Linked DNA regions of Homo sapiens: regions 1 and 2 are each linked to region 3. Evidence: promoter capture Hi-C in human tissues and cell types (Jung and others, 2019). All regions are on one chromosome and are shown on one strand. Each heading gives the region's core, a stretch centred on a gene start or on the middle of the fragment in contact. The rest is flanking DNA. Distances are from core to core; before and after follow the strand shown.

Evidence for each region. The method cuts DNA at HindIII sites, captures the fragments that hold promoters and counts their contacts. A contact is called where the count stands out against the background at its distance.
Region 1: a contact is called between a fragment that was not itself captured here and the fragment with the promoter of ZNF626 in region 3, in 1 of the 25 tissues and cell types used here (liver).
Region 2: a fragment that was not itself captured here is called in contact with the fragment with the promoter of ZNF626 in region 3 in 1 of the 25 tissues and cell types used here (hippocampus).

Annotation. Positions count from the first base shown.
Region 1 is chr19:20,713,094-20,718,011 of GRCh38, reverse strand. No RefSeq gene overlaps it. Among named protein-coding and RNA genes, the nearest start is that of ZNF626, 54 kb to the right of the region's middle. The HindIII fragment of the contact is 3,860 bases long and covers 1-3,297 here.
Region 2 is chr19:20,622,922-20,627,823 of GRCh38, reverse strand. ZNF626 (zinc finger protein 626) reads left to right here. Exons shown (of 4, transcript NM_001076675.3): 4 at 2,174-4,902. The coding sequence ends at 3,534. Among named protein-coding and RNA genes, the nearest start is that of ZNF626, 36 kb to the left of the region's middle. The HindIII fragment of the contact is 4,768 bases long and covers 1-4,295 here.
Region 3 is chr19:20,658,977-20,663,360 of GRCh38, reverse strand. It overlaps ZNF626 (zinc finger protein 626), which reads left to right and starts at 1,790. Exons shown (of 4, transcript NM_001076675.3): 1 at 1,790-1,917. The coding sequence starts at 1,915. RefSeq lists a silencer at 1,596-1,665. The HindIII fragment of the contact is 1,409 bases long and covers 1,385-2,793 here.

The sequences.
Region 1 (4,918 bases), core at 118-2,617, 55 kb before region 3:
CTCTGCAAATAAGGTCAGGTGATCTTTGAAACATTAGTAAATTAGAGAATAAACTTTATCTCAACTAGAGAAGAGGTATTTCCTATAGTTGCTGTAAAAAGAAATATAATGGTGAACATTTATTTAAAGTTACAAAAGTAATTAATAGAAAAACAAAAAAAGTAGGCAAAGAATCATACTGGCAGGAGTATTAAGGGAAGGCTTGGGATGATATAAGGAAGTTAAATCTTTTGTCAGAATAGCGCGTCAGTAAATGCTATTTCAAATTAATCAAGGAATATAGTGCAATAACAGATTAAAGGTGGATGATAATCAGAAATATAAGTTTAGAAATCTTTTTTTTGTGTGTGGGAGTGGGGACAGAATCTTGCTCTATCCCCCAGGCTGGAGTGCCTTGGCATAATCTTGGCTTACTACAACTTCTGCCCCCCAGGCTCAAGCCTTTCTCTCACCTCAGCCTCCTGAGTAGCTGCAATTACAGGCATGCACCATCACACCCAGCTAATTTTCAAATTTTTTGTAGAGGTGGGGTTTCACCATGTTGACCAGGCTGGTCTCAAACTCCTGACCTCAAGTGACCTGCCTTCCAAAGTGCCGGGATTACAGGAACGAGCCACCATGCCCAGCCTAGAAATAGTTTTAAGAGTTAAATAGTGTTACTGATATAGTTTGGATATTTGTCCCTTCCAAATCTCATGTTGAAATGTAATCCCCAGTGTTGGCGGTGAGGCCTGGTGGGAGGTGTTTCACCTTCTGCCGAGTAAAGCTCCCTGAGGCCTCACCAGAAGCTGAGCAGATGCTGGCACCACATTTCTTGTGCAGGCTGCAGAACCAGGAGTCAATTAAACCTCTTTTCTTTATAAATTATCCAGCCTCAGATATTTCTCTGTAGCAATGCAGAAAAGGCCAAACACAGTTAGCCTGTACGAAAAGAGGTTAGAGACTGTTAGGCATGGGGCAGGAAGTTTATTTTTCATTTTAATCTCTCTATTCGATTTAATTTTCCAAAACATATGAATAGATACATTTGATCAAAAACTTAAATACAAGCACTTTCTAAGAGTTGGAGTTAAAATAACTGATACCCATTTGTTTCCGTGGCTGGTCTTGTGTAATGAAGACAGGGAGCATTTGCCAGCAGGATCGCAGAGAGACTTTACAGGCCTACCTGGGAATTAGGTAATCACCAGGCCATGTTTGACTCTGAGATAAGTTTTCTCCAAGATTTGTAAGCTCCAAAACCCACAATATCATTTCAGGCTATCCTCAAATTCTTTCACTGATACAAAAATTAGGTAATAATTCACATTTGTATGTAAAGGTAGGAGTGGGTGATGTAAAAGACTTACCAGAAATGAGTTTATTGCTAAAAAATTTTGCAGCAGTTGAGAAATTTCTGACCTCTTCTTATTGAATGGCCTTGTCTCATGCTTTGATATTTCTCATAGGCCATAGTTGGCATCTTTAATGCCCTAGGGCAAACTTCAAGAACTCTAGAGTTATTGTAAATTAGCTATTGCAAGCATACGACTGTTCTGGTCATTCAAAGTAATCCTGTCTTCAGTTAGAGCAAATAGGAGAAAAATGATGTTTTACTGAATGCTTAGCCTGTTTGTAATTATCACCAAACTTGTAAGACACAAGGTTATAATAGCCTTCTATTTTGTAAACAAAAGTGAGGACAAATAATTAGTCATAGGATAGAAATACAATCAATTTTCCATAACACTGAAGTTTGTGTACCTTCTAGTATCTTGCTCTTCACTCTCTACAAAGCTGCTTCACAACTGAATCAAACCAAACAAACAGGGCAGCTGGACTGGTTTTCTGGTGGTGGCAGTGGGTGGGGGTGAGTTCTCTGGCATGGAAGCTTTCAGGCATAAGCTCCAAGACCATTCTTTTTCAGGTTGTTTTAGAGAAGGTTCAAGGACAAGTGGGTTGGAATTGGGCTCTGGGACCTCTCCTAACAATGGGATTGTATTTATGATATCTCAAGAGTACGCTCAAAGAAAAATGCTTTGGATCCTCCAAGTAGGATGTGAGGTGATAAACTCAAAGTCATACTCCCATTTGATAAAAACAAACAAAACAAACAAAAAACAACTTAACTTGAACCCAAGTTTTGTAGGTCTCAGCCTTGAGTCTTCATATTGTGCTAATTTCCAGAGCAAATAAGTTGCTCCCAAGCACATTGGGGCTGGTAGTTCTGTTATAGGAAGAGGGACTTAGAAATTCTAATGAAAAGCAGTGCTGGGATCGAAAGAATCAACTCAGGAAATCTCAGAAATTATTTATCTCTTGATTTGTCATTGCCTAGGCTGTCTTTGCACATAGCTAACAGGAACCTGAAGAGGAGCCATCTCGCAAATGACAGCCAGAGGAGAGACTTGGAATTTGGCATGAGCTTTAATGGAGATATTCTGCAATTTATGGTTTTGGCAAGTGGAGACTGAAGGTAAAATAAATACGTTACAGCTTTTGAGAACAAATATTTTTTCATAAGTTTCCTCTGGCAGTTAATTTGTCTTTGACAGATTACTCTCAAAGTAATGGAGATGAATAGAAATGACTTTACCCAGAATGGCCTTATTATGATGCATAATCCTTTTAATGTCTCACTTTATAGGGCCTAGAATCTTTAGGATTTGGCAACAGAGACCTAATCAGGACTGTCTCTCCTTTTTTTGGAAAAAAAAAAAAAACAACCTAGTAAGTCTTTTTTTTAAAGTCAAAGTGCCATCAAACCTATGGTCTAATTATCTTCATAAGCAAAGAGACACCTGCTTGCATAGGGATGAGACTATTGCAAGAATTAATATGTTTTCCAATTTTTAAATAAAATGAACTAATGGAACCCAACATCTCATTAATGGTCAGAGTTAGGGCCATATATAAGATTAGATTCCACCAAATTCTGGCTCATATACGGTTACCTAAATGGCTATTTCTTTGTATTTTCCAAACTAGACAAGGTCATTGAGTTGTCATCTCAATAGACAATTAAATATCTAAGGTCAATGCTTCACTGTTTTTTTGGAAGATAGATTTTAGTTTGCCATAAAGTGTCAAAGAGAAACCAGCTGGATCTGAGTAATCTTAGATACATGTGGCCCATGCTGGATGTACTCTTAAAGCTTTCTTGAAGAGTAAGAAATTTTCCTAAGATTTTTATGGGCTTTTAAAATGTTTTAATGACATCCCCACCTCTTCAACAACCTTCTGTTTTACAAGTTACTTCCAGTATAACAGGCATTTCTATTTGGTGGTTTCCAGGTAGGAAAAATGATAGACTTAATTTCTCTTGCTCTTGGCAACTATTCTCTTTCCACAGAACTCTGGCCAGCTGGTTTACACCAACCTTCTTTTGTTTGCTGATATTTCCACCACCTGCTGGTTGCCCTTATATTCTCTGGTTGACACTATAGGTACTATTAGTTTGAAGATGTTAAGTGTTTGAAGCTTCTGATTTTACTTTATTTCTGTATATTATTTACCCTTAGGACTCATGATTCTACAAAGTGGAAAGGAATAATGATATTTTGATAGACTCCATGAATTCAAGCAGTGATCCCAAATCTCATAGCTTGTATCAGTGAGGCTTCTTACACACAAGTCAATTTTCTGACCTTTGTAGAATCAACTAGCTGCCTTTTAGCTTACACTCTTTAAGAATATGATTTTTAAAATCTTTTTTTATTATTATACTTTAAGTTCTAGGGTACATGTGCCCAATGTGCAGGTTTGTTACATAGGCATACATGTGCCAGGTTGGTTTGCTGCACTCATCAATTCATCATTTACATTATGTATTTCTCCTAATGCTATCCCTCCCCCAACCCCCCACCTCCCAACAGGCACCAGTGAGTGATGTTTCCCTCCCTGTTCCATGTGTTCTCATTGATTAACTCCCCTTATGAGTGAGAACATATGGTGTTTGGTTTTCAATCCTTGTGATAGTTTGCTGAGAATGATGGTTTCCAGCTTCATCCATATCCCTGCAAAGGACATGAACTCATGCTTTTTTATGGCTGCACAGTATTCCATGGCGTATATGTACCACATCTTCTTTATCCAGCCTATTATTGATGGACATTTGGGACGGTTCTAAGTATTTGCTATTTTGAATAGTGCCACAATAAACATACATGTGCATGTGTCTTTATAGTAGCATGATTTATAATCCTTTTGGTATATACCCAGTAATGGGATGGCTGGGTCAAATCATATTTCTAGTTCTAGATCCTCATGGATCTAGAACTTATATACATATATATAATTACTTTCAATCTCTTTTGCTCAGTAGCATTTCAGAATTGATATATAATTACAGATATATAATTACTTTCAATCTCTTTTGCTCAGTAGCATTTCAGAATTGAACATAGACATACAATATTATAAACATAAAAAATCCTTAATCTTCAGTAGCATAGGCCTCAGAAATAAGCTGACACTAAGTCAGGTTACTCATGCAGTTCAGGTTTGCACTTCAGGACCCTGCATTCCTTCTCAATGTTTGTATGTGCTTTTCACATCCACTAGTTTGGGCCTGTTTTGATAAACCTGTAGTCACTATTTAGATAATTGGCTCATTGGATCTAACTAGACTAAGAAAATTGGCTGAATGGAATTACCTTGTGTTAATCTAATTGGCTAATTAGATTCACCATTCTTGGGAGAAAAGCTGGGTGTTGGGAGAGAAGCTGAGGCAGGGCTTGCATGTCTGACATAATGTAAAAAGTCTTGGAACATGTCCATGGTCCAGGGTCTAAAACCCCTTGTGGTCTTTGGAACACCAAGCTCTGTGCTAAAGGATGGAAGGCTACCCTGACACACCATAATCTAAGCCCAGGGCATAAAATCCCTCGTGGCTTGGATAGAATCCAGAGGGCTAATGGCTCTGGAATGTGTCTAGACA
Region 2 (4,902 bases), core at 662-3,161, 36 kb after region 3:
GTGCACATGTACCCTAAAACTTAAAGTGTAATAATAATAAAATTTAAAAATATATTTACATGAAATTCTACTTCTGTCTTGCCACTTTCAGTCTTTTTTTGTCAGTAGATCTCAACTGACTCCTGTAGAAAGGCAAGTTGACTCTTGATTTTTAAAATTTTTTAATAAACCTGTTTATTGAAAGTATATCTCTTGATTGGAAAGATAATTATATATATATTTAAATGGTTTTCTGAAAGAGAAAAACTTACTAATGTTATTTTATTATTTGTTTTATTTGATTCTTATATCTTTGTCTTTCCTTTTCTTTCTGTGGTTTTCGTGGTTTTTTGCTTTTTGTATTGGTATTTTTCCAGGATTTTTTAAATTTTCTTTTGTGTATCCATACAAATATTTTCTTAGTGGTACTTTGGGAGATTACATAAAACCTCTAAAAGATCCAACAATATATTTGAATGTGGTAAAAAATAAACTTCAGTTGAATACAAAAATTCTTCATCATTACATCTGCCTACATTACAGCTCCTAAAATTCTCTTCTTATCTATGATTTTTGAAGGTTTGCTTGTATGTGTGTTTGTTACAAATATCTTTGTGTGTATCCTAGTTTGTTTCTTCAGCTTTTTCATGTTTACATCATTTTTCCTTTTAAGAAATTTTTCAATTGTTTTTTGCATTTTTTATATCCACAATTTTTGTTTTTTTGCTATTTCAATATTTCTTATTATTATCCTCATTTTTATCTTCAGTACTTGTTTGTTTCACTTACCTAATGTTATTCAAATTTATTTATTTAGTTAGTTTTTCTGAGATGGAGTCTTTTTCTGTCACCCAGGCTCTGGAGTGCAGTGGCGCCATCTCAGCTCATAGCTACCTCTGCCTCCCGAGTTCAAGCAATTCTCCGGCCTCTGTCTCCCAAGTAGCTGGGGTTACAGGTGGCTGCCAGCATTCCAGCTAATTTTTTGTATTTTTAGCAGAGATGGGTTTTTACCATGTTGGCCAGGCTAATTTTGGACTCCTGACCTCAAATTAGGAGGCCAAGGTGGCCTCCTAAGTTGCTGCGATTACAGGCATGAGCCATTGCGCCCAGCCTATTTTATTTTTGAGACAGTCTTGCTCTGTCATCCAGTCTGAAGTGCAGTGGTACAATATTCACTCACTGCAACTGTCCCCTCCCAGGTTCAAGCAATTCTTGTGTTGTGTGTCAGCCTCCCAAGTAGCTGGGATTACAGGCACATGCCACCATGCCCAGCTAGTTTTTGTATTTTTAGTAGATACAGGGTTTCACCATGTTGGCCAGGCTGGTCTCAAATTCTCACCTAATGTGGTTTTCCCACCTTGGCCCCCTAGTGTGTTGGGATTCCAGGAATGAGCCACTAAGCTTGACCTGTACAACTTATTGGGAATTTTTTAAATTACCTCATATACATTTTATGGTTGCTTTAAAAATTTTATAACTTTTTGATGGGATCACGTTGCTCTACTATTTTGTATTTATTGTAATCTTTGAGATTTTTACATTAACAAAATGCTACCTGTTACAATCTTTATAATGTAGCTGTGTCCTGGCATAGTCTGAAATCAATTGTCTTAACTAGAGATTCTGGGAATCTCAGCTCACTGTAACCTCCACCTCCCAGGTTCAAGCAGTTCTCTGCCTCAGCCTTCTGAGTAGCTGGGATTACAGGTGCCCCATCGCCACACCCAGCTAATTTTTTGTAATTTTAGTACAGATTGAATTTCATCATCTTTGCCAAGATGGTCTTGAACTCCTGACCTTCTGATCCACCCACGTCAGCCTCCCAACATGCTGGGACTACAGGCGTGTGTCACCCCAGCCAGTCAACAATTTACTTTTAAAGGCACAATGTTATACTGGAGAGCAAAACCAGCTGTGTTGTGTATAAGTAACAGACTTTTCTATTTCTTCTATTTGGCCGTTTGCATTGTGCTCACCTGGGGCCCTTCACAACTTATTATAAGTTTTTTACAAATGTATTTTGATCAGTATGTTTTTGTTAAATTCATATGTCCAGGAAGAAATTACAGCTTGTGGTATTTTCCTGTGTCATCTTGCTTATGTAGTTTGTATAAAACTATACAAACTGCATATATATATTTATATTTATCTGAGTCTACCAATTGAAGTAATGTGTTTTTATTGTTTCTTTCAGTAATGTGTTCTCATTTTGCCCAAGACCTTTGGCCAGAGCAGAGCATGAAAGATTCTTTCCAAAAAGTGGTACTGAGAAGATATGAAAAATGTGAACATGACAATTTACAGTTAAAAAAAGGATGTATAAGTGTGGATGAGTGTAAGGTGCACAAAGAAGGTTATAATGAACTTAACCAATGTTTGACAACTACCCCAAGAAAAATATGTCAATGTGATAAATATGTGAAAGTCCTTCATCAATTTCCAAATTCAAACGGACAAAAGAGAGGACATACTGGGAAAAAACCTTTCAAATATATAGAATGTGGCAAAGCTTTTAAGCAGTTCTCAACTCTTACTACACATAAGAAAATTCATACTGGAGGGAAACCCTACAAATGTGAAGAATGTGGCAAAGCCTTTAACCACTCTTGTAGCCTTACTAGACATAAGAAAATTCATACTGGAGAGAAACCCTACAAATGTGAAGAATGTGGCAAAGCCTTTAAGCACTCCTCCACTCTTACTACACATAAGAGAAATCATACTGGAGAGAAACCCTACAAGTGTGATAAATGTGGCAAAGCCTTTATGTCATCCTCAACCCTTAGTAAACATGAGATAATTCATACGGAAAAGAAACCCTACAAATGTGAAGAATGTGGCAAAGCCTTCAACCGGTCCTCAACCCTTACTACACATAAGATAATTCATACTGGAGAAAAACCCTACAAATGTGAAGAATGTGACAAAGCCTTTAAGTACTCCTATACCCTTACTACACATAAAAGAATTCATACTGAAGACAAACCCTACAAATGTGAAGAATGTGGCAAAGCCTTTAAGTACTCCTCTACCCTTACTACACATAAGAGAATTCATACTGGAGAGAAACCCTACAAATGTGAAGAATGTGGCAAAGCCTTCAAGCGGTCTTCAGACCTTACTACGCATAAGATAATTCATACTGGAGAGAAACCCTACAAATGTGAAGAATGTGGCAAAGCTTTTAAGTACTCCTCTAACCTTACTACACATAAGAAAATTCATACTGGAGAGAGACCCTACAAATGTGAAGAATGTGGCAAAGCCTTCAACCAGTCCTCAATCCTTACTACACATAGGAGAATTCATACTGGAGAGAAATTCTACAAATGTGAAGAATGTGGCAAAGCTTTTAAGTGCTCCTCTAACCTTACTACACATAAGAAAATTCATACTGGAGAGAGACCCTACAAATGTGAAGAATGTGGCAAAGCCTTCAACCAGTCCTCAATCCTTACTACACATGAGAGAATCATACTGGAGAGAAATTCTACAAATGTGAAGAATGTGGCAAAGCCTTCAAGCGGTCCTCACACCTTACTACACATAAGATAATTCATACTGGAGAGAAATTCTACAAATGTGAAGAATGTGACAAAGCTTTTAAGCATTTCTCTAACCTTACTACACATAAGAAAATTCATACTGGAAAAAAACCCTACAGATGTGAAGAATGTGGCAAAGCCTTTAAGCACTCCTCTAAACTTACTACACATAAGAGATTTCATACTGGAGAGAAACCCTACAGATGTGAATAATGTGGTAAAGCTTTTCACCTATCCTCACACCTTACTGCACATAAGATAATTCATACTGGAGAGAAACCATGTGAATGTGATGAATGGGGAAAATCTTTTAACCAGCCCTCAATTTCTAACTAAGAATTGATATGAAATATAAACTCTACAAATATAAAGAATGTGACAGATTTTTTAAGGAACTTCTCAACCTTTATTACACATAATTCATACTGGAAAGAAACCCTACAAGTGTGAAGAATGTGGCAAAGCATATAACAAGTTCTGTCTTTTTTTTTTTTTTTTTGAGATGGAGTTTCAACTCTTGTCACCCAGTCTGGTGTGCAATAGCACAGTCTCGGCTCACTGCAACCTCCGCCTTCTGGGTTCAATCCATTCTCCTGCCTCAACCTCCCAAGTAAGGGGGATTACAGGTGCCCACCCCCATGCCCAGCTAACTTTTGTATTTTTAGTAGAGACAAGGTTACACCATGTTTGTCAGGCTGGTATCCAACCCCTGACCTCACATGATCCACCCACCTCAGCCTCCTAAAGTGTTGCAATTACAGGCATGAGCCACCATGCCTGGCCACAAGTTCTTACTATTAAGAGACATGGTGATAATTCATTCTGAAGAGGAACTCTACAAACCTGAAAGATGTGACAGTGCTTTTTTCAACACTTCCATCCTTTCTATACATAAAAAATTTATACTAGTGTGAAACCCTAGAAATATATAAAATGTGAAACAGCCTTTATATGGTTGCCACATTTGATAGTAAGATAATTCATACTGGCAAAATTCCTACAAGCATGAAGAATGTGGCAAAACCTTTAATCAATGTGTACATCTTATTTTGCAGGAAAGCTATTATCCTTGAGAAAAATTGTACAAATATAAAGAATATGGAAAACCCATTAATGCCTACTCACATCTTACTCAACATAAGAAGGTTCATAGTTAATGAAAGCATTAAAAGTGCAATTACTGTCAAAAAATCTTTCAGAAAATATAAGCCTTTAAAGTGAAGAAGAGTATTTATTCTGAAGACAACCATTACAAATATACAGGAGGTTTATTACACACATTTTGTACTAGAGGAAAATCCTGAAGCAGTTGCTCAAGCTTTGCTCAACATCAGAGAACTTATATTGGAGAAGGGTCCTGCAAATGTAATGAATTTGG
Region 3 (4,384 bases), core at 541-3,040:
AGAACCTCCTGAAGCATACAAAAGTATTTGTAGCTGCATTGACCAAGCAGAAGAAAGAACATCAGAGTTTGAAGACCACCTTGCCAAAATAAGGCATGCAGACAAGATTAAACAAAAATGAATAAAAAGGAACAAATGAAGCCTTTGAGAAATATGTTCTGTGCAGGAAACACATGAGGGGAGAAGAAAAGACACGCACACAATACCTTTAAGGGTAAACAAGCTTTATCCCAGGTAAATGGCAATGCATATATAATAAGCAAATTGATATAATAAGAGCATTGCAATGGGAAGGGGAGAAGAGAAAAAATATATATCTTTACACTCACCAGACTATGGAGGATTCATCAGCAGACCAGGAAGCAACAGCCTGGGCTCCAGAGTCGGCCACCCATCCCTGTACAGACAAGGAGAGGTCTTTGGAGCTTTGGTGCAGTCTGGGATCCTAGCTCTTTTTGTAACAAGTTGTTTGGCATGAGGCCCAGTTGCAACTGGGCTCTTTGCAACTGGGCTCAAGGAACACAAAAAAGTCAACTTGTTTTTTTTGCGATTGGCTATTGTTTTTCAATAACTAACGTATAGGAATAGATTAAAATAGAGATTTCTCCAAAACAATCTGTGCCCAGTTCTCTTTGCCCAGCTTGGCCTCAGTCCCATTCAGCCAGAAGATGGCAGCTGCGCTGACAGCCAGGCCCCCAGAAGTCCTGCCTCTTCACTGCGCTGTGACTGTGCCCTGGCCTGGAGCCCACTTTGGGCAGCTCTGCACCTGCAGCATGGCGTCTCTCCCAGATTGTGCAGGGACCAGGGGAAGGTCGGCAGGTGAATGCCTCAAGGGGCTCACATAACCTGTTCCAGGACTTGGTGACCATTGTTTGTGTCCATGTTCAACTGAGTTCAAATTTAATATTTAACTTTTCCTCCACAAATTCCCCTGTCTTGATGAATCATCTCTGTCTAGGCAAGATGAAGCCCTTAGGCCGTTACACAACCTCCGCCTCCTGGGTTCAAGCGATTCCCCTGCTTCAGCCGCCGTAGCACCTGGGACTACAGGTGTGTACCACCACACCTGGCTAATTTTTTGTGTTTTTACTAGAGATGAGATTCAACATGTTGGCCAGGCTGGTCTTGAACTCCTGACCTGAAGTGATCCACCCACTTTGGCCTCCCAAAGTGCTTGGATTACAAGCGTGCACCAGCGGACTGGCCCTAAATGATTTCTTTGTCTCTTGTAACAGTTTGAAATTACTTAAAGGTTGTTTCAAATTGAAAAAATAAAAAGAATGTAGATAAAAATAAAATATAAAAAGTTAAAAAATTACATTAGATTACAAAATATGTATGTAAATCTCGAGAGGTCAAAAATGACAAATTTGATTTTTTATAAGGTTTTATCAAAATTACCTTTAGTATTGATAATACATTATTGCCAAAGTAAAAGTTGATTTTCTCTTGAACAAAAATTTTATGTATTATTAATATGAGAGCAAAATACTTCTGTTCACCTTTTGAATACATTCAAAAAGAGAGAGAGTAAAGAAAAGATAGAATTCTCCCATGCTCTGGGGTGGGCCTGGCTCAGCTCAGGAAGGAAGCCCTGCCTGAAAAGGCTGCAGCTTAGGCTGTCACTCTTTCTTCACTCAGCTCAGCGTCTGATCACATCTACTGTCACTCAGGGCCTCAGGGGGCGGGGCCTTAAGCATTATCCAATCAGGGATGGTGGGCTGGAAACCATCCAATCAGGAACGCAGCTGGAGCGAAGAGGACGGTTTCCGGGTTTGGTGCGGCCTTTGTCTCTCGCTGCAGTCAGAGCTCCAGGTCTGGTTCTTCTCCTAAAGGCCCAGGCTGTGTGGCCCCGTGTCCTGCAGGTATTGGGAGATCCACAGCTAAGACACCGGGACCTCCTGGAAGCCAAAAATGGTGAGAGTGAGGGTCCGACATCCCGAGAGAGGAGAGGGACTGGTTGGAACCGGTGAAAAGTGGCTGTGGCGGGACTCAGGCCTCCCCGCAGTCAGCTCCACAGTCTGCTCCCCCAGTTCTCCTTGCTCAGCTCGGCCTCAGTCCTGTTCAGCCATAAAATGGCAGCTGCGCTGACAGCCGGCACCCGGGCGTCTTGTCTCTTCACTGCGCGGTGACTACCCTGGCCTGGAGCCCTCTCTGGGCAGCTCTGCACCCGCAGCGTGGCGTCTCTCCCAGATTGTGCAGGGACCAGGGGAGGGTGGGCAGGGGAGAATCCTGACTCGGGGTGCGGGTTCATGAATGGGAAGAGCTTTGTTCCTTTGGGTTTACAGTTTCTCTTTTCTCCTATTAAAAATGTATGGGGCCGGACGCTGTGGCTCACGCCTGTAATCCCAACGTTTTGGGAGGCCGAGGCGGGCGGATCACTTGAGGTAAAGAGGTGTTAGGACAACTAAGTTCCTTTTAAATGACTCAACTTTCTGGTCATAAGTTGTAAAAGTTGTAAATCAACCCTACCTCTTCTTCTACCCCCTTTTCCTTTTCTCGCAAATCGCGCATTTACTTTATTTGGAAAAAGTTTGGGTCTAAGCTTACCAGGATCAGCTTAGATTGTGCGGTCTGATCCCAGCCAATAGGGGATGGAAACAAAAACAGGAACTGCATTAGGGTTCAAAACCCCTTTCTTGCTGGGCGCGGTGGCTCAAGCCTGTAATCCCAGCACTTCGGAGGCCGAGGCAGGTGGATCACGTGGTCAGGAGTTCTAGACCAGCCTGGCCAACGTGGTGAAACCCGTCTCTACTAAAAATACGAAAACTATCGGCGTGTTGGCACGTGCCTGTAGTACCAGCCACTTGGGAGGCTGAGGCACGAGAATTGCTTGAACCCGGGAGGCGGAAGTTGCAGTGAGCTGAGATCCAATCATCGCGCTCCAGCCTGCGTGACAAAGCGAGACTCCGGCTCAAAAAAAAGAAAAAAAAAGTAAGCATCTTAAAAATTCCTTTATGTAAACATTGTGAGTAATTTCACTGGAGTTTCTAACACTTAGTTTCAAAAACCAAGTGAATAACTGATGTGGACATTAAAGCTTGAACCTAGTGACTCCAAGCTAAGGCTAATATTAAGCCTGCAACAGGGTATTTTTTTTTTTTTTTTTTTTTTTTTAGACACAGTGTCGCTTGTGGTGCCCAGGCTGGAATGTAATGGCGTGATCTCGGCTTACTGGGTTCAAGCGATTCTCCTACCTCAGCCCCACCAGTAGCTGGGATTACAGGCATGCACCATCACGCCCGGCTAATTTTGGTGTTTAGTAGAGACGGGTTTTCTCCATGTTTGTCAGGCTGGTCTTGAACTCTCTGCCTCAGACCCGCTTCGGCCTCCCAAAGTGCTGGCATTATCGGTGTGAGCCACCGCACCCGGCCAACAGGAGGTTATTAAAGGCCCTGTTATTTTTTTCTGGGGAGTCTCCCTTGCGGATATCTCAAGACTGCTCACCCCAGCCACGGAAGGAGCCTTCATTCTGAAAGAAGCTACAAAGCCTTGGAAAGCTGGGGCCCCACAGGCAGATGCAGTCAAGATTAAGATGAAAGGAAACTGGGAGGGTCTTACTGGTAATGAAGTTGTTATGGTTTTGAGGCACTTTTTACGCTTTCTAAAATAAGAATATTAGATTTATGTAAAAAAAAAATGAATTCCTAAGAAGTATTGCAACAGGAAGAAGTACCAGCTAACTAAAAAATCTTCATGGGTTGCAAAAATGTAGGCAGAAAAGGGCTTTTCTCCTACATTGGAGATGGCTTATCTCCATCCCTCACTAGCCTGAGGGATGGAGATAAACTTAAGTAAAGTTTGATTAAGAAATATTTTAGGCTGAGCGCCATGGCTCAGGCATGTAATCCCAGCAGTTTGGGAGGCCTAGGCGGACGGATCACCGCAAGTCAGGAGCTTGAGACCAGCCTGGTCAACATGGTGATAACCCTGTGTCTACTAAAAATACAAAAATTAGCTGGTAGTTGTGGTGGCCACCTGTAATGCCAGCTACTTGGGAGGCTGAGGCAGGAGAATTGCTTGAACCATGGAGACAGAGGTTGCAGTGAGCTGAGACGGTGCCAAGGCACTCCAGCCTGGGTGGCCGAGCGAGACTCCATCTCAAAAAAAAAAAATTATTTTGACCACTGAAGACAAATTCAGCTGAATTTCTTAATGAGAAAAAGGAGAAAATGTACAGAGTGTGTGTCTGGCTGTGTGATAGGTAAGAAAAGAGAGCACCATCTAAGTCATAATGAGAAAGGCGTTTCTTTCCGTATACTGTTCCTGGAGCACACAAAAGGTGGAGAATTTTATTAATCACAAATATTTTCCAGGATTTTCTATGTGTTTCATCTTTCCCCATCTCTTTGTTCTATGCATTTCTTCCATTTGGCTTTTCCTG